4 separate regions of the Homo sapiens genome follow, and regions 1, 3 and 4 are each linked to region 2. Evidence: promoter capture Hi-C in human tissues and cell types (Jung and others, 2019). All regions are on one chromosome and are shown on one strand. The core of a region is centred on a gene start or on the middle of the fragment in contact, and the rest is flanking DNA. Distances in the headings are between cores, read along the strand shown. Region 1 has its middle 8.9 kb from the start of MIR6085. Region 2 holds the start of TPM1 (tropomyosin 1). Region 3 overlaps TLN2 (talin 2). Region 4 overlaps TLN2 (talin 2).

Region 1 (6,516 bases), core at 3,707-6,206, 690 kb before region 2:
CAATTGTAAACAAAGTACAAAAAGATCCTGTAGGCCTTTCACCTACCTTTCCCCGGTGGTAACACCTTGCATGACTATAGTACAATATCACACCCAGAAAATCAACATTGATAAAATCCAGCAACTTTATTCAGATTTTACCAGTTTTAACATGAGCTCATATGTGTGTGTCCTTAGTTCTGTGTGATTTTATCACATGTGCAGATTCATGTAACCGCCACACAGTGAAGACAGGCAGTTGCATCACACAGATCTCTTGTGCTACCTTGTATATCTGAAGCCACTTCCCTTCCTCCCTCACCACATCCCTAACTCCTGGCAACCGCTAATCTTTTCTAAGACAAATATTTTTTGTAGCCTTTTCAGGTAACTGTGGACATTCTTTGATACTCTGTAAGTAGTGCCTCTCTCTCTCCTTTTTTTAGACAATCTCCCTCTGTTGCCAAGGCTGGAGTGCAGCGCTGTGATCATGGCCCACTGCAGTCTTGAACTCCCGGTCTCAAGCAATCCTCCCATCTCAGCCTCCACCTCCCCGTGAGTAGCTGGGACTATAGGTGTGCACCACCACACCTGGCCAATTTTTAAGTTTTCTGTGGAGACAGGGTCCCACTATGATGCCCAGGCTGGTCTCAGATTTCTGGGCTTAAGCAATCCACCCACCTCCGCCACTCAAAGTGTTGGGATTACTGGCATGAGCCACCTCGCCTGGTCATTTGTTTGTTGTTGTTGTTGTTTATCTTCAGAGATAATTACTTTGCGTAACTGAAACTGTGTACCTTTTGACCAACACCTTCCCAATCCCCCTGCCCACAGCCCCTGGCAGCCACCATTCTGCTCTCTGCTACTGTGTGTGACTACCTTAGAGCTCACATTCCAGAGGTCATGCAGCATCTCTGGCTGGCTTATTATTTCACTTAGCAGCATAATATCCTCCATACTCATCCATGTTGTCGCAAATGCAATATTTTCTTCTTTTTAAAGGCTGGATAGTATTCCAGCATGCATATATACCACATTTTCTTTATCTGTTATCTATTGAGGGACACTTAGTTTGATTTATGTCTTGGCAATTGTGGCTATGTGCTGCAATCAACACAGGTGTGCAGCTATTTCTTTGAGGTCTAGATTTCACAGGAATATGAATTTTAACAAACACACCAGGTGATTCTGATGCATGCCAAGACTTTAGAAGCATGGCAGGGCCGGGTGTGGTGGCTCACGCCTATAATCCCAGCACTTTGGGAGGCCGAGGCGGGCGGATCACAAGGTCGGGAGATGGAGACCATCCTGGCTAACACGGTGAAACCCCATCTCTACTAAAAATACAAAAAAAAAAATTAGCTGGGCGTGGTGATGGGCACCTGTAGTCCCAGCTACTCGGGAGGCTGAGGCAGGAGAATGGTGTGAACCCAGGAGGTGGAGCTTGCAGTGAGCCGAGATCGCACCACTGTACTCCAGCCTGGGAGACAGAGTGAGACTCCATCTCAAAAAGCAAAACAAAACAAAAAGCATGGCGGTAGGGAAACAGTGGTGGAGACCCTATAATCTTGGTGGAAACGGGAGCCAGTTGCGAAGCTTAAACTGCAACTAGGCTTCCAGGGAATCATGAAATAAATGTTGACTTTGTTTTTAATTTTCCAAACCCCAGTTAAATTCAACAAAACTGATTGAGAGTAATAAAGGGTGTAACAGAATGAGACCCTGATCTAAGCAGGCTCTTGAGCCAAAAGAGGGACCAAGGAGGTCGCAGGGCAGCTGTCTGGGTAGAGAAGGGGTGTTACTCATCCCCTGCTGCGGGGACACCGAAGCTCTGCAGATCAACTGTCCCAGCCTCATCTGCAGGAGAGGAGCGAGGGTGCGGGACTCAGCTGGGAGGGCCCCAGGACCCCTGCCTCAACAGCACAGTGGGGTGAACCTGAGGTGCAGACTGGCCCTTTGCTCCCCTGCGGCAGGGAGCTAATGAAGTTTTTCTAAACCGGTTTACTGGGCCACAGATATTGTCATCCATGGAGAACTCGAATTGTCAGAATCACCAAAGATTCTAAAGCATAGATGGTGCTGGTTCACTAGGCTCCACCGGACTCCTCCCCTTCTGACGCTCAGAGGCAAAGATCCTTTTCCTGATTTCAGGAGTGGGGCCGAGAACGGCCACAAGGAAATCGCATGAGCAGGGAGAGGATCATGGCAGTTCTGGGTGAGAACTCTGACTTCTGCGGATTAGAGGGCCCACGTGACGGTAATGGCCAGCCTTAGGGCCGGTGGGCAAGGGTCTGCGGCGGGGCGGACCCCACCTAGGTTTGCATGCTGACCCCGAGAGGCAGCAAGAGAAAGCAGAAGTTGTTTTCTGCCTGCAGTGGAGGATCAGGCGGTGCCTTTCCCTATTGCTTCCTTCTTGGGGCCCTGAGATCCTATTCACCCTGCAAGGAAACAAAAAGGCAATTAAATGAGTGGGACTAGAAAAGACTGATGGGAGGCCGGACACGATGGCTCACGCCTGTAATCCCAGCACTTTGGGAGGCCAAGGCAGGCAGATCACCTGAGGTCAGGAGTTCGAGACCAGTCTAGCCAACATGGTGAAACTCCGTCTCTACTAAAAATACAAAAATTAGCCGGGCGTGGTGGCGGGTGCCTGTAAGCCCAGCTACTTGGGAGGCTGAGGCAGGAGAATCGCTTGAACCTGGAAGGCGGAGGTCTCAGTGAGCTGAGATCATACCACTTCACTCCAGCCTGGACCACAGAGTGAGACTCCGTCTGGAAAAAATAAAAGGCTGACAGAGAAACAAATGGGAAAACACAGGGGAAGAAAGCCTATTGAGTAAGAGCCACAGAGAAAATAAGAGTAGAAACGGGAGTGAGGGTAAAGAAAAGGGAGATGTGAGCAGATACCGGGAAAAGGAGAAGAGGGCAAGCCCGCTTTAGAAAGAGCAAGAAAGCTGGTCAGTCAGGGTTCACCGTCTCAGCTTCTGAACCACATGGCCTGTCCGTGGGCTCTCTGACCTGGCAGGGCCTTCTTTGGGGCCAGGCAGGCTGGAAGCAGGCCTGTGGTCTTCCTCAGAAGGTGAAAGCTTTAGACATGGGGACAAGAAGACAAGGAGAGGAAGCCATTGGAGCAGCAGAGAAGGGGGTGGAGGAAGTGATCCTCCCTCATGATGTGGAACACGCAGTGGACAATGGGGATAACAGCACCCACTCTAAGGTTATTGAGAATAAAACAAGACAAGGCCTGTGCAGTAGCTACCTCAGCAGCATCCCCCAAGGACTGTTCTGAGAATGGTGATGACAGCCTGCACCATCCAGGGGGTCATGGGGACAGTATGGAGTTGATCCCAGAAGCATATAAGAGGCAGTCAAGACTGACTAGCTGTAGAAAGAAGAGCAGAAAGAGGCCAGGGGTAGTGGCTCATGCCTGTAATCCCAGCACTTTGGGAGGCCGAGGTGGGTGAATCACCTGAGGTCAGGAGTTCGAGACCAGCCTGGCCAACATAGTGAAACCTTGTCTCTACTAAAAATACAAAAATTTGCCAGGTATGGTGACACATACCTATAATCCCAGCTATTCAGGAGGCTGAGGCAAGAGAATCACTTGAACTCAGGAGGTGGAGGTTGCAATGAGCCAAGACTGCACTCCAGCCTGGGTGACAGAGCAAGACTCCATCTCAAAAAAAAAAAAAAAAAGAAAGAAAAGAGAGAAAGAAGAGCAGAAGGAAGACCCAAAGTCTGTTCCTGGATTTCTGTTTTGGGTAACTAGTGGGTGATCCTGACAGGGAATAAAGGAAATGTGGATTCTGGGGAGAAAATGAGTTGTTTTGTATTATTAACATTTATATCTGGGCAGAAAACTATAACGGGCCAATAAACATGAACATGTGCTCCTCCTCACCAGTAACTAAAGAATGAAAATGAAAACAAAGTCCTTATGTATCGGAATGGGATACAAAATTGAAAATATCCAGTAATGGCAAGGATACAACTGGCATTCTCATACATAGTTGATGGAAGTATAATGTAGAAAACCATTTTGGGGGACAATTTGGAAAGATTTATCTAAAATGTTAATTGTGCTGTCTGTTTGACCGCATCATTCCCCTTCAAGGAATTTATTCTAGAGCTTCCAAAGTTAAAAGCACAAGGCTATTCCCTGAAGCTTGTTTGTATTAGCAAGAACACCCCAATTCCTCCACGATCCAACCATGTGATCTTGGGCAAATTACTTCCCCTGCCTGTGCGTCAGTTTCCCCACTTGTAAAATTGGCACTCATACACACACACACACACACACACACACACACAGAACTAGCACTCGGATCATTCATTTGTTGGGATTAAATGAGAAAATGCAAGGCAAGCACTTAGCACGGAGCCTGAGCTGTGATCAGTGCCCAGCTAAGGTTAGCATTCCTGCTCCTCTTGCTAGCAGCAGGGGTTCCTGATGGGGCATTAATGGAGGGACTCTTAGGGAGAAAGGGAATAGCTGGGCTTTGGGGGAGCACTGCTGCATGAAGCTGAAAGCCCAGAGCAGATAGGAGAGAAAATGAGTCTGCTTCTAAAGTGCCCACTTCAATCACAGCAGGGAAGGAAGTAGGAGATTCAGAGACAGTCTAGAGAGATGTGTAACAACGGTAGATGGAAAGGAGAGGTAGCTGAGATTCTTTGTTTTTTGATTGGGGAAATCTATAAACCGATGAGCCCCAAGGTTCCTGTGGAAAAGTCGGCAGCCGGGCACAGCCCCAGAGTCTCGGGGTGGATTATTTAGTGCTCCCTTGTTGCGGAAGTGCACCTGGGCTTCCAGAACAAGCAGGGGTGAGGAGTGAAGGTGGCAAAAGAATGGCTGATCTGGAGCTTTGTGGCCTCACAGTGCTGGGAACCCAGTTTAATGGTTCTAGGATGACCTTGGGAACACGGAGGGTCTTGGGCTCATCGTCAGGAATGGGTCTGTGGTGTCATGAACCTGACTTTGTTCTCAGCAGCCGTGTCACATGGGGTAATCCATTGTCTGTACTTGAATTGGGCACAGCTCTTTTGCATTCTATCTGCCCACTTTTCTTACTGTCACTGCTCATGGGCTCAGAACTGCAAAGATGCTCTGGGCCTGAGCATCTGCTCTCCCCAGCCACACCAAACCTCCATGCTGTGTAGGGGATCTAGAACAGAATTTAAGGAGTAAACAGACACCTTACAGTGCATTTTGTGTGCTTACAAATAGCTCTTGAAATTTCACCCTTAGAGAGTCCTATGTTTTGGGATTCCACAAGTATTCCTGACAAATATGTTAACTTTCATCAGTTCACATCTGTGTGCAAATACGTGTAATCCCATTGCTTTTCCCTTGGAGCCGTGATCTGTTTAGAAAGACAGTAAGAGGTTTCATGAGGTGGATGGAGAAGAAGAGGGCGACTTCAGAACTCATGCCATTCACCAGGGGAAGGCAGGACTCAGCTTCATGATGAGGTAGGGGTTCTCTGACTCTTTTCCTTTTTCTTTTTTTTTTTTTTGTTTTTGAGATGGAGTTTCACTCTTGTCGCCCAGGCTGAAGTGCAGTGGCTCCATCTCAGCTCACTGCAACTTCCGCCTCCTGGGTTCAAGTGATTCTCGTGCCTCAGCCTCCCAATTAGCTGAGATTATAGGCACCCGTCGGCTAATTTTTGCATTTTTAGTAGAGACGGGGTTTCACCATGTTGGCCAGGCTGGTCTCAAACTCCTGACTTCAGGTGATCTGCCCGCCCCAGCCTCCCAAAGTGCTGGTGGCGTGAGCCACCACGCCTGGCCCTCTGACTCTTGAAAAGCTCTGGAACCTGGAGCAGGAGAGAGAGTCTCCAAGATAAACCTAACCAGCTCTACAGGGTGGTGGAAGCCTCGTAGAATGCAGAGATCACACGGCTGGGTATGGAAGATCTGCATTCCTGTCTCAACTTTGCAACTTAATAGCTGCATGGACCCAATTCACCATAGCTAATCTCTCTTTCCTAGGTTATAAAGGAGTCGGTCATGCCTGCCCCAGCGTTTGTTTGAATGTGACTGTGCTTTGAAAAATATTCCCAATGCCACCTAAGCTCAAGCACATTTTTTATCATTACTATTGGAAACATTCCACGAGGGCTGGCCTCAGGCAGGTCAACGTGAAAGCATGCTCTGTACGGCTGAGGCCGGCTGGCCAGCAGCCGTGGCTGCAGGTCTCTCAGAGTCACTCACAGAAGCACTGAAATGACCCACTCATTTTTGTTGAGATCAAAACCTTAAACGGAACAAGTCTAATTGACAGCAAGCTTCCTTCAAGGAACTTCAATGAACAATTCAGGGCCTGCTGATGCTGGGATAAGATGGACAAAGAACTCTGGGTTTGTGTTTCTGCCCTGGGGAGTGCCTCTGCCAGGGCAGGCAGCTGAGGTCTGTGCCTAGGTCTCTCTATTAAACTTCTTTCTCTTGGGCTGGGCCACAGAGCCCTGATTCACCCCACAGCAGCTCCCAGTCCTACCAAGCAAATGTGGGATGGGGCCTGCACTGGGTGCAGAGTGAAGC
Region 2 (6,313 bases), core at 3,814-6,313:
CTTCAAGTGATCCTCCTGCTTTGGCCTCCCAAAGTGCTGGGATTACAAGCATGAGCCACTGTGCTCGGCCTGGTTTTCTCATGTACAGAGTGAAAATCAGAGAACTCATCCTGATGCTGTCATAAGAGGTTGGGAGGAGGAGGTAATGAACTTGAAAGTGCTTTATAAACTATACAAACATGAAGGAATATCGCCTTTCTTAAGACAGCTAAATCTGCCACACTTGGAGCTTGATTAAATCTACACTGAGTTGCTACTGTTGAGAGACAGACAATAAGAGGTAAGGCAGGAAAACTCCTATGCCTTTTTTTTTTTGTACTGGGACAATCATTTTGCCCATGCAAACATTCCAGGTAATAAGCGTGCTCAAGGGCCTCTCCAAAGAATCAGGACCAGCTGTGTGTTACTAAACAATAAAGGCAGGCACGCCTTGAAAATGGCCTAAAGACCTTTCTCAGAGATCCAAACCAGCCCCACCCCCCGCCCCCAGGAAGCATAGCATATTTTCTGTGAGGCCTTGATGGTAGCATCACAAACCCTTGGGAAACACAACTCCCAGTGTTTGAGGAGAGCATGCCGTATCTTGTTCCAGGGACACTGAGTCGTGAGCATAAAACGCTGCATTCCAAAAGAGACGAAGAAGCAGTCGTCTCTCCATTTAATTATAGATTCTTCACTTTCCCTTAATTGCTTCAGTCAGCACTGTTGACTCTGGGGGAGTCACAGTACACCGGCAGGGCTATTGCTGTTAAACAAGGGGTGACTATCAGGTAATGAGGTTTTCATTTTGTTTTTTCAAACAAACAAACCCTGATGTACATATTCAAGTGGGCATTCCTGTTAAAGGTGTCACATTGGGAAATGATGCTCATGTTGACTCTCCTTTGTAACCAAATATTGATAAATGTAGTATGACACATACAAGTGTTTTATGGAAGGAAAAAGGCAGCATATTTAATATTAAAGCTTTCCTAGAAAACCCGAGATATGTGATCCTCATAACTATAGAGGGCCCCAGGTGACCAACTGAGCTGATGGTCATGCCATGGGAAATACATATTAAATGACTCCCAAAGAGAGGGTTCTCCCTGCATCATACATAGACACTTTTCCTACAGAAAAAGATCCATGTCTTTTGTCTGCTTCCCTGGATCCCATAAGCCCTAAATGTCTTGCACACAAAAGGTGTCCAATAAATATTTGGAGACATTTGTCTTACCCTATCACAATACTTATATTCATTCTTCATGAAATAAGACACAGAGCCCATATTTTGAATGGAAACAAGATCTTTTGAACCTAGATTTGTTACTTTACCTTCCCAGACTTTCTTGTAAGTCAGTAAGAAAGCTGGACTTGTCAGTCATAAAAAAAATTGTTCAACAAACATTCATTGAGAAATGACTGAATACCAGGCACTGGAGAAATCTGGAAATTCCAAGCATGTTCGTGGTGATCACGTAGAGCCTCTAGGCCAAGAATGTTGAATGTTGTGCAGGCTGTCATGCCACCATGATTTGGTAAGCTTTTTACTTTCAAGGAATATAGACTCGCTTATGTAACCTCAAGAAATACAGGGGGTTATTATAAGGACCCCTGGAACTGAAATTTGGTCATATTCTCCCAATCTCTTTCTCTAAATGGTGCTTCTGTTTATCTTGATATGCCTGCTTCATTCTTTCTCTATAATCACTTCTCTGCTTTTTCATAACTTAGCTGATGCATGCCTATTGTGCTGTATTAGTCAGGAGAAGCTAGTTATGCTTCAGTAACAAACAACCCCCAATCTCAGTGGCCTAAAATAACAAAGATTTATATCTTATTCTCACTACATGTCCACCAAGGGTTAGTTGGGGGGAAAGAGGGAGCCACTTGAAAACCCACAATGACAGAGCAGCCACAGTCTTGAAAAATGAACATGGTTAGTCGTGAGCTCTTTAAGTATCCACCAGAAGTCATTTCTGCTCACGTTTCCTTGGCCAAAGCAAGTCAAATGGCCACAGCCAACTTAATTGGGTGGGATGTACAATGCTACCACGACATTGACTGGGGAGAAAACCTAAAAAATTGTGAATAACCTTAATCACTTTTACACGTGGCATTTCCAGCCCGACACTGCAATCCCTTTTTGTTTCAGCAGCCACGGCTAGTGATTCCCATTTTTCACGTTCCTTAATTCAAACTGCAATGAAAGAAGCTGAGTGGCCCAGTTCATCATTGCCTGACAAGCCACAACGCCAAGTCCCTGGTTAGTATTTAGATCCATCCTTGAGTTGTGGCCAATCAGCCAGAGAACAGGGATACACACTACATACAGCCTGTGACTGTCCAGCCTACCTCTGGAGAGGACCAGGAGACCTGTTCACTACAGAAGAATGTGTTATTTAAGTCATGACGTTTTGCTTGTCCTAGCTTTGTCTTAGCCCTTGGTGACAAAAAGGTCATGGGTGGTATAGCCCATGAAGCTGACTTGGGCCTGACACATGGCAGAATCTCAACATGGGTTAAAAGAAATGATTGAATTCAGGACCTGCTATGTTAACCCATCAGTCTAGAGATCAATGATGTGGTACTAAGGGATTTTAAAAGTTAGCGTTGTATAGCTCCATTTCCATACTTTGACACCATAGGCTTCGACCTCTGAATATAGGCCCTAGGTGAGGGAGTCTGGGAGAGGAAGAGGTGAAAAGAAGAGACATCGATGGCTTTAAACTACACAATAAGGTCTGAATGTCTGAATCTGGAATTCAAGGCCCTTTATCATACAGCCCCAAGCTTCCTTTCCAGTCTCATGCCCCCATTCACCCCCAAAATCCTACTGTCCAACCACCACCAAACATTCCTTTTTCTTTCCTTGGCGCATACAACGGCCCTCCTCTCTAGCTAACTGCTACCCTTCCTTTAAAATCAGTTTAAAAGCCATCACCTTTTCAGAGAATTTTTTCCCATCTGCTCTGACCTAGTCATTTCTATTTCTTCCTCGTGTGAATTCTTAACACCTTTCTCATGCCAAACACCTGGAGGACATAGACCTGTGCTACTCATTCTTTGGATTCCAGAGCCTAGTACCTGCCTAGTATATAGCAGGTACTCAACAACCGTGTGTTTAATAAATTGCTTGTAGCATGATTTCATTTAAGGAAACTTTAATGAGTCCCTCGGCTACATATGGCACAGTAAGAAAAGAAAAGTCAGTAACATGTGGTCCCGCAAGGAGTTTCTCTAGTTCAGTTGCCTCTTTTTATAAGTGAGAAAAAAGGCTTAGAGAGATTGTAACATGGCTAAGGTCACACTGCAAGGAAGTGACCAGGCCAGGTCTGGATCCCTGGAACTGACTCCTAACTCCCTATTCTTGCCTCCTCTGCTGAGCTCCAACCTGGGGAGTCAGCTCCCTGGAGTCCACGCATCTGGATATCGTCCACATGCCTGGAACTTTGTCACTGTTCCGGTGGCTGGGTTGACACACCGTGATTAAAGGGCTCTGGTCAATTTCTGTGCCACGCAGCCCCTATGCTAATGGTCAGATCTAATGTTCTGACCATTAGGTCAGTGTATCTTTTCCCTCCTGGGCAGTTAGGTTAGTGGAAGAAACCCGATAAAATCTTGGAGAGGAATTTGATCATTCTCTGAAGGACTTACAAGTTGTTTGGCCTGCCTAATCTGCTCAGATACCGTCCGGGGAATATTTGGTAACCATGCAGTACAGACTGTGAATTATTCTGTGGGGACTATTAACAAGACCCTCACCAACCCTGCCTCAGCTGATCTCAGGGCTTGGGGGCAGCCCCCTCTCCTCCCCTCCCACTGAAGCTCTGAAAAAAAGCAGCCTTTCCCCCTTGGGAGATGGGAGGAGTAGTTAAAAATAAGAAGTGTTGGGGGAAATCCTCCTCCTTCCAAGCACAGCTCACACGGCAGAGCCTCCTCAGAGTTGCGGCTGCGGATGCAATGACTTAGCCAGGTTAACGCCGATCCCATGTTTTCCGAAACCTGGCACCTAAGCATCTAACATGGAAGGCCGACTCCCTAAAATCAGTGCAAGAAAAATGATAACAAGTTATATCTGGAGGGACCTCGGGGATTATCTACCCGCTGGATTTAAAGTTGAGGAAGCCGCGGGCAGCAAACAAGGTCTCACAGTTGCTGGTGGCAGAGTAGAGACCACAGACCAAATTGCCTGAGTCTAAACTCAATGTTCTTTCCCCTTAGACTGCCACCCGCACACACACGCACACATGCACACCTTTTTGGAGGCACTGCACAGCAAGCACAGAAGTACGCCACTGAGTCCTGTGTCCCTAAAGTATTTGACTGTCCCTCCGCTGGGGGAAAGGGCAGGCAGAAAACAAGACTCCGTGTGCTGTCGCTGTGCCGCCCCCTGCCTCTCTGACCCGCGCCCGCAGAGAAAGTCTCAAGAGCCGCCCCAGGCTTTCTCCCACGTTCTCCCTTTCTCTGCTGCAGTTGAGTTTCCAGAGCGTGAGCGCGCAGGATGACACCTGGCTGGCTGAGAGCTGCCGGGGAGGCGCTGGCGGGTGCCGAGAGCGCACTGACCCTGACGCGGGGTGCAGCACGGCTGGGAAGCCCCCGGGCCTTTGGCTAAGCGCGCCGGGGGACGGCACAGGGGGGCGACGCGCATCCACCACCTGGTCCGCGCTCTCCCGGCCTCCGGCAGCTCAGGGCGGGCTCGGTTGGGGACCCTAATGGCTGGGTGCCGGCCCTGGGAGAAGGGCACGCGGAGGGCGGAGGGTTGCGCCTCGGCCCCGGCTCGGCCCCAACGCCCTCTCCCTGGCGCGCAGGTTTAGAAACAGGGCGGCCTCTCCGGCCGCCGCCTCGGCGGCTCGGGTCCCCATATATAGTCATATCCACCGTCAACTGGGAGGCCGGCGGCCGGCAGCGAATGGGCGAGCGGCCCCCGCGGGAGGAGCGGGGAGGGGGCACGGGGCGGAGGGAGGAGAGGAGGAAGGGGGGCAGGAGAAAAAAGCTTTTCCAAAAAAGTATTGGCTGTCTTGAGGAATGCGGTCGCCCCCTTGGGAAAGTACATATCTGGGAGAAGCAGGCGGCTCCGCGCTCGCACTCCCGCTCCTCCGCCCGACCGCGCGCTCGCCCCGCCGCTCCTGCTGCAGCCCCAGGGCCCCTCGCCGCCGCCACCATGGACGCCATCAAGAAGAAGATGCAGATGCTGAAGCTCGACAAGGAGAACGCCTTGGATCGAGCTGAGCAGGCGGAGGCCGACAAGAAGGCGGCGGAAGACAGGAGCAAGCAGGTCTGCGCCTCCCCGGCCCTGCGCCCGCGCCCAGAGCGCCGGGACTCGAGCCTGGCACCCCCGGCTGGATCCCCACCCCGAGGACTCGGGGAGCCACCACCCTACCCCCACCACCACCCAGGGCGGCCAGGGCGCGCGTCTGGAAAGAAGGAAGGGAAACGCAAGAGCCAGGCTTAGTCTAACTTAGTCTGGTCTGAGGACGCTTATTTCCCTTCTCTGGTTCCCATGGCCCGCGAAATCAAGTCCTAGAGGCGCTTTATTCTCAGGACTGGGAATCAGTTTGGGGGAGGGAGGAGGACACCCGGTTCCTGGGGACGTTTGAAGGAAGGGCGAGGGATGGAGAAAGGGGGTCGAGTAACTCAAGTGTTAGAAGTTCGTTGACTTTTGACTGGGGAGAAAGGAACCTTAAACTTGGGGAGGAGAAGGGAGTCCTGGAGTTGTTACCTAAGAACAAAGATGGGGCGGAATGGAGGCTACAGCCCGAAAGCCAGGCCAGCAGTGGCGTTCTTCTGTGTCCCCAAGTAGTGGACTTGAGCCCGCTGAGACCTCGGCAGGAGTCTCGTCCCAGGGCAGGTGGGTGTGCGGGGTGAGCCGCGGAGCGGTTCCAGCTCGGGTAAAGAGGAAGTTACCTCGGGTCCTTTGCACTCCAACTCGGCGGCGCCCCGAGCCCGAGGGGCCCCAGCCAACCCGACGCCCGTGTGTTGTGTGTGTCTAACACCCGGTCCGTGCCGGCCGCCCGCGCCCGCCCGCCGCTGCCCCCAGCTCGAGGAGGACATCGCGGCCAAGGAGAAGTTGCTGCGGGTGTCGGAGGACGAGCGGGACCGGGTGCTGGAGGAGCTGCACAAGGCGGAGGACAGCCTCCTGGCCGCCGAAGAGGCCGCCGCCAAGGTACCCGGGGCGCGCGGCACGGCGTGGCGCACGAATGGCTAACTCTTTCTCTTTCTCTCTCTCCCTCCCTGTCTTTCCCTCTGTCTCTCCCGCTGTCCCTGTCCTTCTGGTTCTGTGCACCCACACCCCTCCCCTTCGGGATCACGCTGCCTGCTGCACCCCCCT
Region 3 (7,187 bases), core at 466-2,965, 600 kb before region 2:
CTGTGCGGGAGGACCTGGTGTTCTACCCTGGCCTGGGGTGAGGCAGAGGGCGATCAGGGAAGACTTCCTTGAGGGAATGTGTCCAACCCTATAACCTGAGTGGGAGTTTGCCAGCCTTTCGTGAGCAGGTGGCAGGATGTCAGTGGAGGAGGAGGAAGAGAGCTTTCCCTATTGAGAAAGCTGCCTAGGGAAAGCCTTGCAGTGGACAGGAGCTCAATGTGTTTGAGAAACCAGTGAAGGCCAGTGTGGCTGGAGCAGGCCTATGAGAGGAGGTCTCAAGGGACTTGGAGGAATCAGGTTGTTTGAATTGTTGAAGAGTTGTGTATGGCTTGGTTATTTGCTCCATGATTCTTTGATTTCTCTTTATTTATTTATTTTTTTTAGAGGCAGGGTCTCACTCTGTCACCCAGCCTGGAGTGCAGTAGCACAATCATAGCTCACTGCAGCCTCGAATTTCTGGATTCAAGGGCTCATCCTTCCTTGGCTTCTGAGTAGCTGGGACTACAAGCATGCATGCACCATCGTGCCTGGCTAATTTTTAATTTTGTTTTGTAGAGACAGGGACTAACTATTTTGCCCAGGATGGTCTCAGACTCCCAACCCCAAGTGATCCTCCCGCCTTGGCCTCCCAAAGTGTTGGGATTAAAGGCGTGAGCCACTGTGCCCAACCCAATTGTATGATTTCTCTTTTGTATACATCCTCTAATATTTCAGTAGAATTCCCAACACATTGGTTCAATGGACTTTTTAATCACTTTGGCTTTCTTTCATTTGCACAGTTTTGTTTCATCTCTCATTGATTATGAGCCACTTGAGGAAAAATACCATCAAGGGCTCTTAGGAGGGCGTCTCCCATGTTGGTGTACAGCCTGCTAGAGGTCTAGGAATCCTTTCTGAGGAGCACATTCATCAATAGCAGTGTATTAGGAGTTATGGGGGACACATACAAGTTTCATCTTTAGTTTTATCTCCTGGTGATTGGTGGTGGCTGCTGAGAGAGATCATGAGGCCAGGTCAGCTAGCTGGGACTATAAGTGCGAGCCACCACACCTGACCTTTTTTTTTTTGTAGTCACAGGATCTCACAATGCTGCCCAGGCTGGTCGTGAACTCCTGGCCCCAAGCAGTCCTTCTCCCTCTGCCTTGTGAAGATTATAGGTGTGAGACATGACACCTGGCTGAAAGGTGCTATTTCATCCTGCCCCTAGGTGTTTGTTGGTATAGGTACATTTGGGCAAGAGTCATAATCATAGTACTGTGTGTCATCTGGAGCCATTCTCCTTACTGACATGAGCTTCTAGTCCTAGCCCTTGCCTCAGGATACTGATGCCTCTGTTTTAGGTCAGGTTTACTTTTTTCCTCTGTAAAACGGTACTTTCAAAAAACACCATGGGGGTGTGTGTGTGTGTGTGTGTGTCTGTCTGTCTGTCTGCCAATTGGTGCAGTGGCCTCTGCATCCTGAGCTATATTTTCCCCTTGAAATGATCAGGGTTAATAGCATCTGCAAAAATGTATTGATTAACATAGTCATGAATCATTTATGCAACAACTGGCAATGCAACGGATTGATTTACAGACTTCTGGGTGTAGGAGGAGCACCACACATCTATGGACCATCCCCTTTCCCACTCTCGCCTCTGGTGGCAGCAGATGCACCCTGGTCCCCAAGAGCTCACTGGGGAAGGCAAGTGTTAGAGAGGATGTAGTGGGATGAGCTCAGGGCCAAACAGCATTTAGAGAACCATTACAAGCCAGCCTTGGTCAGGTAGTCAAACTTACTTCCAGGATGTCTGGCAAAGAGCCATCAGTTGCTGCTCTAGAAAGTCCACAACATGGCCTAATCCAGTAGTGGTTATTTAAGGGAAAACAGGGGCACTGGGGAGCAGCCAGATCACATCCTTGCTTTTTGCACATTTGGCAGAATGTTTAAAGGGAGTGGGGGCTATTACACTTCTCCCTTGTGGAAATATGCCATATCCTTGTTAAGTTGAAGACAGCCTTGTCTGTAAAGCTTAGTCTATCTGAAAGGTCCTTTCCTATCCAAATTCCAGTCAGCCTCATTCCCCTCTGTAGATGGAAGTGCACCTTTATCTGCTGAGATTTTATTCTAAACATGTCAACCTTTAAACATTAAGGAGTTGGTGATCTCCTTACCTCTGACCACTTGCAGCATTTATTTATCCCATACAGTTCGGTGCATAATCAGTCAGCCCATGTTGTTTACAGCGTAGCAAGTGTAAGAGGGAAGTAGGGAGGTAGGTGGGGCCAACATTCATGTTTAGGTTCAAGCCTGAGAATAAGGATGAGCACAAGGCTACTGAGACCATATAAAACCCCTGGAACAATGCCTTGTCCAGTAAATGGCACTCTGCAGAGTCAGTCCTCTTCACCCTGCCAAGTTCCCCTGTGTATGATATGCCTGGACCAGGACAGATGCTCAGGTGATCCCAAGGACCTAGGGAGGGAAGGGTCCCCTGGCTGAGCAGGCCTCAACAGTTGGATCCTTCTAGCAACAGCTGTGCTAGCACATGCTGGACTCGGATTAAAGTCATACTTCCTACTCTTAATTTCCTGTTTCTTTTGTACTTAGGATTTAACAATACGGTTGTGATTTAGATGTTGCTATCTGTAATAGGGCTTTTCTTTATTGTTTAAAAGCTAATTAGGGAAAAAGATAATTATATGTGGTTGTAAATATATGCATTATATGTTTATGCATATGTATACAGTATAATTAGGATCAAGGATAATAAATGCCTGACCCCTGTGCCATTACTTTTTCTCTTGCTGTCATGGCAGACATCGCTAGAAGATTATGACACTTTACTATGTACCCTAGGAAAGGCAGCCACTGCCAATCGATTGGAGTTGTCACATGTGATAAAACCTATTTGTCAGCCTAGATAAAACCTGTTAATAGATTGATCCTGGGATACAGAACATTTGACCTATCTGAGCCAGTTGTTTTTTTTTGAGATGGAGTCTTGCTCTGTTGCCCAGGCTGGAGTGCAGTGGCATGATCTCAGCTCACTGCACCCTCCGCCTCCTGGGTTCAAGTGATTATCCTGCCTCAGCCTCCCAAGTAGCTGGGACTACAGGTACCCACCACCACGCCCGGCTAATTTTTGTATTTTTAGTAGAGACAGGGTTTAGTCATGTTGGCCAGGCTGGTCTCGAGCTCCTGACCTCAGGTGATCTGCCCGCCTTGGCCTCCCAAAGTGCTTGGATTACAGGTGTGAGCCACCGTGCGCCTATCTTAGCCAGTTTTTATGGATTGGGTCAGCATGCCACCAGCCTCTGGAAGCCCCACAGTGAGAATAAATGTTTATTTCTGGTGAATGGCCAGTCAGTGACTCTCTGATTGTGAAAGCCTCTGACTAGTGTTAGACTTTTTCCCTTTGGGTATGCATTGTCCTTTGTGAACATTGAGACTTTTGGCCTTCATTCCAGTGAGCTTACAATTTCGAAAGTTGATTTGGCTTGCAGTCAGAGGCCATTAATTAGGGGCAAGAAGATGTTTGGTGTTTCTGTATTTCAGCTGTCTCTGGGTTAACCAGGGTCAGGGTTTTTCTAGGGACAGGAACTCCCTGTGCTGAAACAGGGGCGATGATACCATGCAAGGCAGGACTCCCAGGGCAGTGACTGGATTTTAGACAGGGCAGGATAACCTGGATGGTCTCTTCATTTACTTGGTTTAGGCACGTTTGTATTTACTCATTTTACAGATGTTCATGAAGAACCCGCCATGTGCTGGACACTGCTGTCTATCCCAGGTTCGTTTTATACCTTGGCTAACCTGTCTCCTCGATCTCGTGGTCTTCCTGTCTTTCAAGTCTCAGTTTGGGCCTCTCACGAACTTGATTCTTTCTGCCTCTCAGAGGGAGAATGTAACTTAATGTTAGCATTTAATTAATGCTGAGTTGAAACATTGATTTATGGTATGACTTACCTCTTTAAACTCCTTGCATTTAAGATTGAGATAGAGACCAAATTGTCCCTAATTCTTACATATCTTCCCCCTCTCCTTTCTTAAGTATATGGTACAGGTTTCATTCATTGGGAGAACAGCACTGTGAACTTGGCAAGAGCACGGTCCTGGCTGCAGATCGGTAAATACAACCAAATGGCAGAGCATTTTTTCTGTAATAGACTCCTAACCTAACGGGTGGGGTGGTGTTTGTGCCAAACGTCAGGGAGGACGGTGCTGACTGTCCTCACTGTCCTCCTCTGCTTTGGTGAATGTTTCCATGGCAACCTCTCTTGCTGTTCTCTTATACCCCTATCCCTGTCTTGCCCTTGGCTGTGGCCTCCTGGATCCCCGCAGCAGGAATTATTGACCGTCCTACTTTTACTTAGGATTGATACCTCCCTTCTAAAGTAGAGCTGTCATGGAAAGCAGCATGTGATACCAGTGTACATCTCTTATCCCTTCAAAAGTTTAGCTCCTTGAGGCAGTTTCAACCATTTTTTATATCCTCCCTGTGTGGTGCTCAGCAAATACTGAAAGCACGAATGACTGTGACAGCAAATACTGCTCTGAAGGAAGCAGTCTATAAAACAGGCTATTTCTATCCTGGAAAACGGCCTGTGGAAACAAAGCCAGGTTCTGGTTATAGTCACATTGGTATATAATACATAGCTGGTTCATCAGGTGCTTTATCCATCTCCTGCTCACTTCACATTCATGCTCTGGGACAGCGTTTCCTGATGAAGCTCATTTCCTAGTGAAAATCCATCGAACTAATGATGGGTCAGATGTGGGTAAGTGTAACGTGGTTCCAGTACAAGCAGAGATGGATTGGTCATGAAGATTAGCTTTAGGGCCCCTCACATGGAGGGATCCCTTCCAAGGCCCTGTGCTCATTTGTATTATTTACTTATCTAATATTTTTGAGACACCGTCTTGCTCTGTCACCCAGGCTGGAGTGCAGTGGCACAATCATAGCTCACTGCAGCCTCGAACTCCTGGGCTCACGTGATGTCTGTGCTTCAGCCTCCTGAGTAGCTGGGAGTACAGCCACATGCAACCATGCCTGGCTTTTTAACTTGTGTGAGCTTCATGTGAATCCACCCCTGAATACATGTAAACAGAAAACACTGAGGTAAACTAAAGATAGAAGAAACCAAGATATTATTTCCTACTCTCTTTCACAGTCACTCAACAATCCTGACTCCATTGTCTGTTGGGGCGGGAGGACGTTCCCCACACAAAGCAATTCTCCGGCAGATTCTTCAGTGGACAGCAACTGGATGTCCTCTAATTTAACTCAATTTTTACACCATCTACCTGGAGATATAGGGTCAGATCCCATAGGTTGAGGGTTTAGCCCCACAAGATTGCCCACTTCAGATGCCAGTCCCCACTGCTGGGAAAGGGAGAGGGGCCAGAGGTTAAATTGATCAGCAATGGCCAATGATGTGATCAGTCATGCCTATTTAATGAGGCCTCTATTAACAACATGAAGGACTGGGTTCAGACAAGCTTCCAGATGGATAAACACGTGGAGGTTTGTGGCGGGTGGTGTGCCCCCCTAGAGGGCATGGAAGCTTCACACCCCTTCCCTCATACCTCGCCCTAAGCATCTCTTCTATCTGGCTGTCCATCTTTATGCTTGGTAATGTTGTTAATAATAAAAGGGTAAAGGTAAGTGAAGTGTTTCCTTTAGTGCTGTGAGTTGTTCTAACAAATTAAGTGAACCTAAGGATGGGGTCATGGGAACCCTGATGTATAGCCTGTTGGTCAGAACACAGGTCACAACCTGAGGCTTGTAGGGGACAGTCTTGTGGAACTGAGCCCGCCACCCCGACACCATGTCCAGGTGGATAGTGTCAGAACTGAGTTAAATTAGAGGATGTGGCCTGGTGTGTTGCCTCATGCCTGTAATCCCAGCACTTGGGAAGGCCGAGGTGAGTGGATCACCTGAGGTCAGGGTTCCAGACTAGCCTGGCCAACATGGTGAAACCCCGTCTCTACTAAAAGTACAAAAATTAGCTGGTGTGGTGGTGCGTGCCTGTAATCCCAGCTACTCGGGAGGCTGAGGTAAGAGAATCGCTTGAACCTGGGAGGTGGAGGTTGCAGTGAGCCGAGACTACGCAGTTGCACTCCAGCTGGGGCACAGAGTGAGACTCTGTCTCAGAAAAAAAAAAAAAAAAAAAAAAATTAGAGGATGTCCAGCTGGTGTCTGCTGGAGAGTCACCTGGGAAACTGCTTGGTTGCTGTGTGAGGTTGCTGTGGGAGGAGAAATCCCCATACATTTTGGTGACCAGAAGTGTAGTATTGAGTGTACTGTGTGAGATAATAGAAAAAAAAAATTTGTTTTTTCTTTCTCTATATTTTAATACCCAACCTTCAAAATAAAATCAAAACAGAAACATTTTGCTGCTGTAACAAATTACTACACATTTAGTAGCTTAAAGCAACACACATTTATTAACTTAGGTTCTAGAGTTCAGAAGTCCTAAACTCAAGGTGTCAGCAGGGCTGTGATTTTCCTGGCGGCTCTAGGAGAGAATCCATTTCTTTGCTTTTTCCAGCTTCTTGAGGCCGCCTGCAGTTCTTGGCCTAGTGGTCCTATCTTCCGTCTTCCGAGCCAGCAGTGCCACATCTTCTAAGCTCTCTCTCACCTGTCCTTCCACTGTCCCACCTCCTGTCTTCTGACTTTGGTCCTCCTACCTCCCCTCTTTTCAGGACCTTTGTGATTACACGAGGTGCACCTGGATAATCCAGACTAATCTCCCCATCTCAAGATCCTCCTCAATCATGTTTGCAAAGTTCCTTTTGCCATGTAAGATACCATTCACAGGTTCTGAGGATTGGGGTGTGAATATTGTTGGGGGGCCATTGTTCAGACTACTGTAGTTATAATTTTAATATTAAATTTGTTATATTCTTTGGCAATCCAGCTTAATAAATGCCTTCTGTTATCTCTTCTGATAGCAGTGTTTGGTTTTTGTGCCCTTCCTGCTTCCTTAACTGGTTCTAATATAAAACTTTAATTTGTTTTATCACCATTAACAATTTCTGTTGGACACTGACATTAATTGGCAAAAGTTCTGCATCTTTGTTATAATACTAACACTTGGGCAATAGGAACGTATTTTGGGCTATGAATGAGCTTTTTATTAAAGCTGTAAAGGAAGATTTCTTTTCCTCTTCATCAATTTGTATTCCCAGCTACCTCAAAGGAG
Region 4 (6,440 bases), core at 52-2,551, 630 kb before region 2:
AGTTCATGCTCCTGGGCACATGGTAATTAGATGTTATTCCTCCTTAGAGAGTGTGAGTAATGGATGTGTGTGTGTGTGTGTGTGTGTGTGTGTGTGTGTGTGTGTGTGTGTTTTGTTCCCATGCTGCATTGGCCCTTGTAGGCAACCTCAGGATAGAAGTTTGATATATTTTTTTTTCTTTTGGGTCATCTTAACAATGGGGAGATATATTGGAGGGCTCTGCAGGGTTTTGCCCATTGAGGTTGAGGTTGGAGCAGAGCTTTCTAGTCAGGGAGCTGAATTATGCTAACAGGTGAGCTGAGATAGTGAATGATGCCTTTAGTCTTCTCTCCATTCCTCTGGGGCTGCCAGGACTTAGGCCCTACTGACATGGTAATTTTTCAAGTACGCCAGAACTTGGAAAAGTTTGGGAGATTATTCATCTCTCAAAATGGGGGCCCTAGAAGCAGGGGCTAGGCTGTTAGATTTTAAGTTAACTAAAGAGAAAAATGGAAAGGAGACAAGGGGACCCACGGGTTGTGTGGGAACTTTAGAAGAGGGATGTGGATGAACTAGTTCAGGGTTTCCCAGACTTCTCTGATGATAAGATTCATCTGAGTACTAACTCAAAGTAAATTTACACAGCTCGCTGGGCATGCTCTGGCGTATTTAACAGTTAGCCCATGTAATTCTTACCAGGGACTTTTGGGAAACACTGGGTTAGATCATAAGTCTCTTTGTCCCTGCGATTTAAAATCGGTCTGTGGACCAGCAATTTCAGCATCACCTGGAAACTTGTTGGAAATGCAGAATCTTAAGTTAATCCAGACCTACGGACTTAGAATCTTCATGTTAATCAGATCCCGAGGTGAACTTGCATGCATACTAAATTTGGGGAAAGGCTTGCCTAGAGGACTGGGACACCTGTCAACATTTGAAACCAGTAAGGTGGTGGTAACAAGGGCTGATAACCTTTTTGAGGAATTGGAAGAGACGGAGGTCTGGGATTTGAACTCAAGTTTCTGGCTCCAAATTGAGTGCTCTACTCAAATCCTCTTGAACCTGTGGTCTTTCATCATCTCTGATGGCAGGGTGCTAGCTGTCCTTCTGTTAATGTTGACCCTGGAAGAATGATGCCCAGGGAGACAGGAGCATGTGTTTTTTGGCACGACTGGGACCACCCAAATGTGTCACAATTCTTGGCATCCATTAACTCTGTCAGGACACCTTCTTCCTGTCCCTGGGTAAAGACTTACATTCAAATGTAAGAGTCAGCAACTTTGAGTTCTTGAAGACCTGTGGAGGTTTACATCATACCAGCAGTGGGTCCTTGAAAAAGTTGTTATATTTTTGTCCAAGGGCAGGATCAGATGGAGTACAGTTTTTCTAATGCTCCCCTAGACTCTTAAATCCTCCTTCTCTAAGCACAATGTCAGAGGAAATACCCTGCGAGGCACTTGCCAAATGGCTTGAAATAAGCGTCCGTGCACATTTCTGAAAAGACAATTAGAAGCTTATTTGAGGAACTAAAGGCCTGCTGTGCTAGACATTAGTTGGAGAGAACTCAGTGCCAATTTGGGAAACTCTCCTGGGGGCTCTTTCTCATCACAGCCCCTGTTTGGAGAAGCTGAACTAGAGAAGTGGAGAGACTGCAAGGCTTGGGAGAGTGGAGGATAGGGAGGAGGGGAAGAGGGAGCGATGTGCCCTCGAGAAAAATGAACAATGCCAATGTCTCCTCCAGGGAGAATTGAAATCTTTGCAGGTAAAATCAAGTGGAAAAGGGAAAGTCATTATAAGTTCATCAACACTTGAATTGTGTTGCTAGTTAGCACTGGTATCCTGGCCTTGGAAGACTCTTTAGCAAACTGAGCCCTCATGAGGTTAGTGCCCTGCCCAAGGTGACACATGGGGTTAGATATAAAGCCTGATCAGAATCCAGGGATCTTATTTAGTCCATGCACTGCCCCTTGTGCTCTGCTGCCTTGGAAGATGCTAAGAATGTAAAATTACAATGATTGGATCCAGATGTGCTGGCCCTGCCCCCACCCCCAAGCTAACATAGTGAGTTTTATTGCTAGTCCATCTGAAGTGTACAAGGCATAAAGATCAGGAAAGAAAAATCTCAAGCCAGTAAATATCCCTATTGTTGGGGATGCTATACCCGGCTGTTTCTCTTGGCTTGACGCGCCAGATAGAGCGACCTACGGAACACAGAACAGGGAAAACCTCTGCACTGTAAGTGGCAGGATGTTTGTGTTCAAAGTCATGGCGTGAATTTATATGCTATTGCCAAGGTCTGCAGGGACAGGTGCACATTAAGTTTTTAAAATTAAATTGTAGAAAGGCTGAAACTTTACAGCGATTCTTGTAGCATGAGTAGGGGATCTGAAAGGGCTCCAGTGCAGAGGCATGGGGTGGATAGAGGCATTTTCTGTGATGAAACACCAGATTGCTTGTGCAGAAAATCTGAAGCCTTTGACATTTATGTTGCACAGTTCAGCAATAGATTACACATTGTCTTGGTTAAAAATGGTTTAATGTGTATGCCTATTTTATTTTTGTCCCCTAGATTGAGTTTTGAAGGCAGGAACCAAGCCCTTTATTTATCTGGCAGTCTGAGGGTATGGTAAATGATTGGAGCCATCTGGCTGCAGTGGTCAAGGGAGATTGCCTTGGGAAGTTGAACTTGAGCTAGAGGCCAAGTGCACTGAATTTTGGTGTCTTTCCATGTGGTTTTGGCTGTGGCAGCTGGGCCATTACAACTTCATAATCACATGTCATATTGGTTGAACTCAGTGAAGTGTTAGCAAAAAAAAAAACTATATATATATATATATATATATATATAATTTGAGAAATTAAATCCTTTTAGATGATAGTAGGAACAAGTAAGTGGTGCTTGAGGTTTAATTTGATTTGAGAATGTGGGGGAGGAGAGTGAGCCTATGCTTTGATTTCAGTGGTAGAGCACTGGTGTTCCAAGGGGATTGTGTTTGAGAACCAGTGGGCTTAATCTTGCCACTGAATCCAGTAAGAAGCTAGTTTGTCCTTCAAGTAGAGGCTGAGGTGCTGTGTTCAGCAGGCTCCTCAAAGTGTAGTCCAGGACCAGTGGCAGCAGCAGTATCACCTGGGAACTTACTACAAATGCAAATTCTCCAACCTCACCCCCAAACTACTGAACCATACGCTCTGGGCTGGGGCTCAGGAACCGTTGTTTTAACAAGTTCTCAGGGGTGTTCTGCACACAGAGGTTTGAGAACCGCTGTCATACAGTATGTAACAGCAAAAGTGATTTGGACGTTCAGTCTAGTGGGTCATTTCCCAAAGCATTTCATGTTTGGTTGCCTTCTTGTTCTGGTAACACAAGCCAAGTTGATGGGGGTAAATAAAGTTAGATTTCCACTAGTGCTTAGTAATAAATTAATGACAGCTCCAAGGTCTGGCTGGACGGAACCCTCGAGTCTACCTCCAACTTGGCTCTAAAAGCAGACTCTGGTTGTGACCCAAGGAGGAGTAAATAAAAGAATTTTTCCTGTCAAGCATGCCTTTTAAAATTTTTATTATTTATTTATTTATTTATTATTGAAATGGAGTTTCGCTCTTGCTGCCCAGGCTGGAGTGCAATGGCGTGATCTCGGCTCCCTGCAACCTGTGCCTCCCAGGTTCAAGCAATTCTGCCTCAGCCCCCCGAGTAGCTGGGATTACAGGCGTGCACCACCATGCCCTGCCAATTTTTGTATTTTTAGTAGAGACAGGGTTTCACCATGTTGGCCAGGCTGGTCTCAAACTCCTGACCTCAGGTGATCTGCCCACCTCAGTTTCCCAAAGTGCTGGATTACAGGCGTGAGCCACTGTGTCAAGGATGCCTTTGATAGTCATGTTCCTATTAGGGACAGAGATGGACAGATTTCTGGGAGGAAAGGGTAGGAGAGGTGCCCGAACTGACTGACAGCCGTGCGAGTTTCTTCTGAGGAGACGTAGCAAGTGGCAGGGCTGAGACATGGATATGGATGTTTTTCACCTGTGTTCAGCTGGCTGCATGATAGCAAAAATGTTTGATGAACATTCTGCTGCTGAAAGGACTTTTTCATTGTAACAGTTGAAACAGAGCTCTCTGTTTAAGAAACGTTTCCTGGTGGAACAAATGATTCCAACTGAAACAAACTAAATGTTGAGATAGGATTTACTTTGACTTTGAGGGGAAAGAGGACAGCTAACAGTGCCCATTCATTTAACCCCTGCTTGCCCCATTCTGGGGAAACAGCAGCCCAACAAAACAGGAGTCCCGCTCTGCTGGGGTGACCCAAAGGAAGAGGCCCGCTGCCAGGCGCTCCTGGCACAGGGAACAGTGTGTTCCAAGGGTTGGGCCAGTGGGCTCACGGTCGCTGGGTCTGCTTCCTCTGTTTGGAATTTGTGGTCTTTGCAGTGTGTGAGGCTGAGAGATTGTCACTAAGCTATGTCCAGAGGTCCACGTGTCAAGTTTTAGGATCTCGGAGTTGTGGGGGGTAGCCCTCCATGTCCATGCAGTAAATCACATCATAAAACTTAAAGGGACCCTATTTTAGTTGAAGATGTAATTGGCTTAAAACTAATTTAAAGGGAGTCAGGTCTGGGTGGAAGTTGGGATGATTCTGTGAAGAATGTTGGGGAAATATAAATTAAAAACAAAGTTGGTTGGGCACAGTGGCTCATGCCTATAATCCCAGCATTTTGGGAGGCCAAAGTGGGAAGATCGCTTGAACTCAGGAGTCTGAGACCACCCAGGGGAACATGGGGAGACCCTGTCTCTACAAAAAATACAAAAATCAGCCAGGCATGGTGGCACATGCCTGTAGTCCCAGCTACTTGGGAAGCTGAGGCAGGAAGATCACTTAAGCCCAGGAGGTCAAGGCTGCATTGAGCTGTGATCACCACTGCATTCCAACCTGGGTAACAGAGCAAGACTCTATCTCAAACAATAAATAAGTAGATTAATTAATTAAAAACAAAATCCCTCTTCAGTCCAGAAAACCTCTCCACAAAGGTAGAAGAGAAAGAACACAATCTTATTATTGGCTAAGCTTTAAGCCAGAATGTGATGTGTATCACAGGCAATCTGCTAAAGGAATTGCAGAAAGGGAAAGAAATATTGCTCTTTTGTGTAGCTAAGTAGATACAACTCATTATATTTATGTTTTCAAGATTAAATTGCTAAATTTGCCGTATCTTTGAGGCTGGAGGTAGGGTTTGCAATTTGGAGTCAGGTGACAGCTGAAGTTAGGCTCATTTCCTGCCCAGAATATAGCATTATCTTCCTTGATATTACATATCAAAGAGATGACTCTCAAGCCATTGCGAGAGAGGCTTATTTAGCATTTGGCCTGACAGGAGCCACCCTGCCCCTTTGCCCAGAGGAGGGTGGCTTGAATGTCTTGGAATTCAAGGCTTGCTCTGAGCTCATGAAGGCTCCTAGAAGACCGGGCTCTGCCTGCAGTAAGGGTGTTGATCTTTGATAATTACCTCCCCTTGCTGGCCTCAGGATTCTCACCTGAAAAATGAGGAGTTGGACTGGAGTGCTGTGATGCCATGGCATGGGGGCTCTGTTCTCCTCCCCATTTCCCCAAGCTGCCATTTCTCCGCTTCCTATCTCCAGAACATCCCGGCCAGCAGTTGCCCAGTGGCTCAGAAGCCTAACAGATCTATTCCGCAGATCATCGAGTTACAGAGCAGCTTTTGGAGTTGACGTTGGGGAGTGCTGTGGAGATGGCGTCAGGTGTTAGGGCACCCTTTGGCAAGGTCACCTCCTCCTCCCCAAGGCATGAAGGTCTCTGGGGACAATTCTGCATCTGATAGTTGTCTAGTCCTTGCTCTTCCTATCTGGCTTATTCTGCCTCTATAATTTTATTTAAGTCATTTAATTTGCCTGTCGCCCTCTCCAGCGTGCTTCCTTCGGCATCTTTGTCCCTTCTTTGCTCTCCAGTCAGAATCAGGGAAAAATCTTTGTTTCCTCATCAGCTTCGTTTCTGGGCTATCTCTAGAGGAAGTGGTAAGGCTTTACATGCTTTTTAGACCAAGCGTATTATGCTTCCTCTCATGCCAGAAGCAGCTTAGAAAATTGCTTTACTGTGTCCTCATTAAGGACTTTCCAAGAAACTTTGAGTTAAATGACAGTGTTCACATATAGAAATGCCCTTTCAGATACTGCTTCAGTTACTTGATTCACCCTTGAATAACTGGATCAGAAAATTGTTTTCCCTGCCTGAGTCAGCCGTCCTGTGGGAACCTCATACTTTGCATCTGAGTTCAGGAAGAACTGAATCGAGTCTGCAAGGAGGTTTGTGAATTTAGAGCTAAGAAAAGCTTCTCAGGGCTACAGGCTCTGGTGGTAGAGATTACGTACTCTACTTGACTCTCAGCCACAACAGTGCCTGTGGACCAGGGGGCATTGAAGTAGCACCATTGGAGGAATTATGCATTCATTG

What was found. Contacts are between HindIII fragments. The study calls those that stand out against the background at their distance.
Region 1: a fragment that was not itself captured here is called in contact with the fragment with the promoter of TPM1 in region 2 in 1 of the 25 tissues and cell types used here (mesenchymal stem cells).
Region 3: a fragment that was not itself captured here is called in contact with the fragment with the promoter of TPM1 in region 2 in 1 of the 25 tissues and cell types used here (IMR-90 fibroblasts).
Region 4: a contact is called between a fragment that was not itself captured here and the fragment with the promoter of TPM1 in region 2, in 2 of the 25 tissues and cell types used here (IMR-90 fibroblasts and mesenchymal stem cells).

What each region holds. Positions count from the first base shown.
Region 1 is chr15:62,348,635-62,355,150 of GRCh38, forward strand. No RefSeq gene overlaps it. Among named protein-coding and RNA genes, the nearest start is that of MIR6085, 8.9 kb to the left of the region's middle. RefSeq lists an enhancer at 2,254-2,754. The HindIII fragment of the contact is 5,273 bases long and covers 2,321-6,516 here.
Region 2 is chr15:63,037,684-63,043,996 of GRCh38, forward strand. It overlaps TPM1 (tropomyosin 1), which reads left to right and starts at 5,064. Exons shown (of 10, transcript NM_001018005.2): 1 at 5,064-5,260. The coding sequence starts at 5,147. RefSeq lists enhancers at 4,008-4,922, 5,836-6,313. The HindIII fragment of the contact is 3,976 bases long and covers 2,151-6,126 here.
Region 3 is chr15:62,436,359-62,443,545 of GRCh38, forward strand. All of the region lies in intron 1 of TLN2 (talin 2), which reads left to right. Among named protein-coding and RNA genes, the nearest start is that of TLN2, 49 kb to the left of the region's middle. RefSeq lists a silencer at 3,212-3,506. The HindIII fragment of the contact is 4,060 bases long and covers 1-3,745 here.
Region 4 is chr15:62,411,366-62,417,805 of GRCh38, forward strand. The region is part of intron 1 of TLN2 (talin 2); the gene reads left to right. Among named protein-coding and RNA genes, the nearest start is that of TLN2, 24 kb to the left of the region's middle. The HindIII fragment of the contact is 3,928 bases long and covers 1-3,265 here.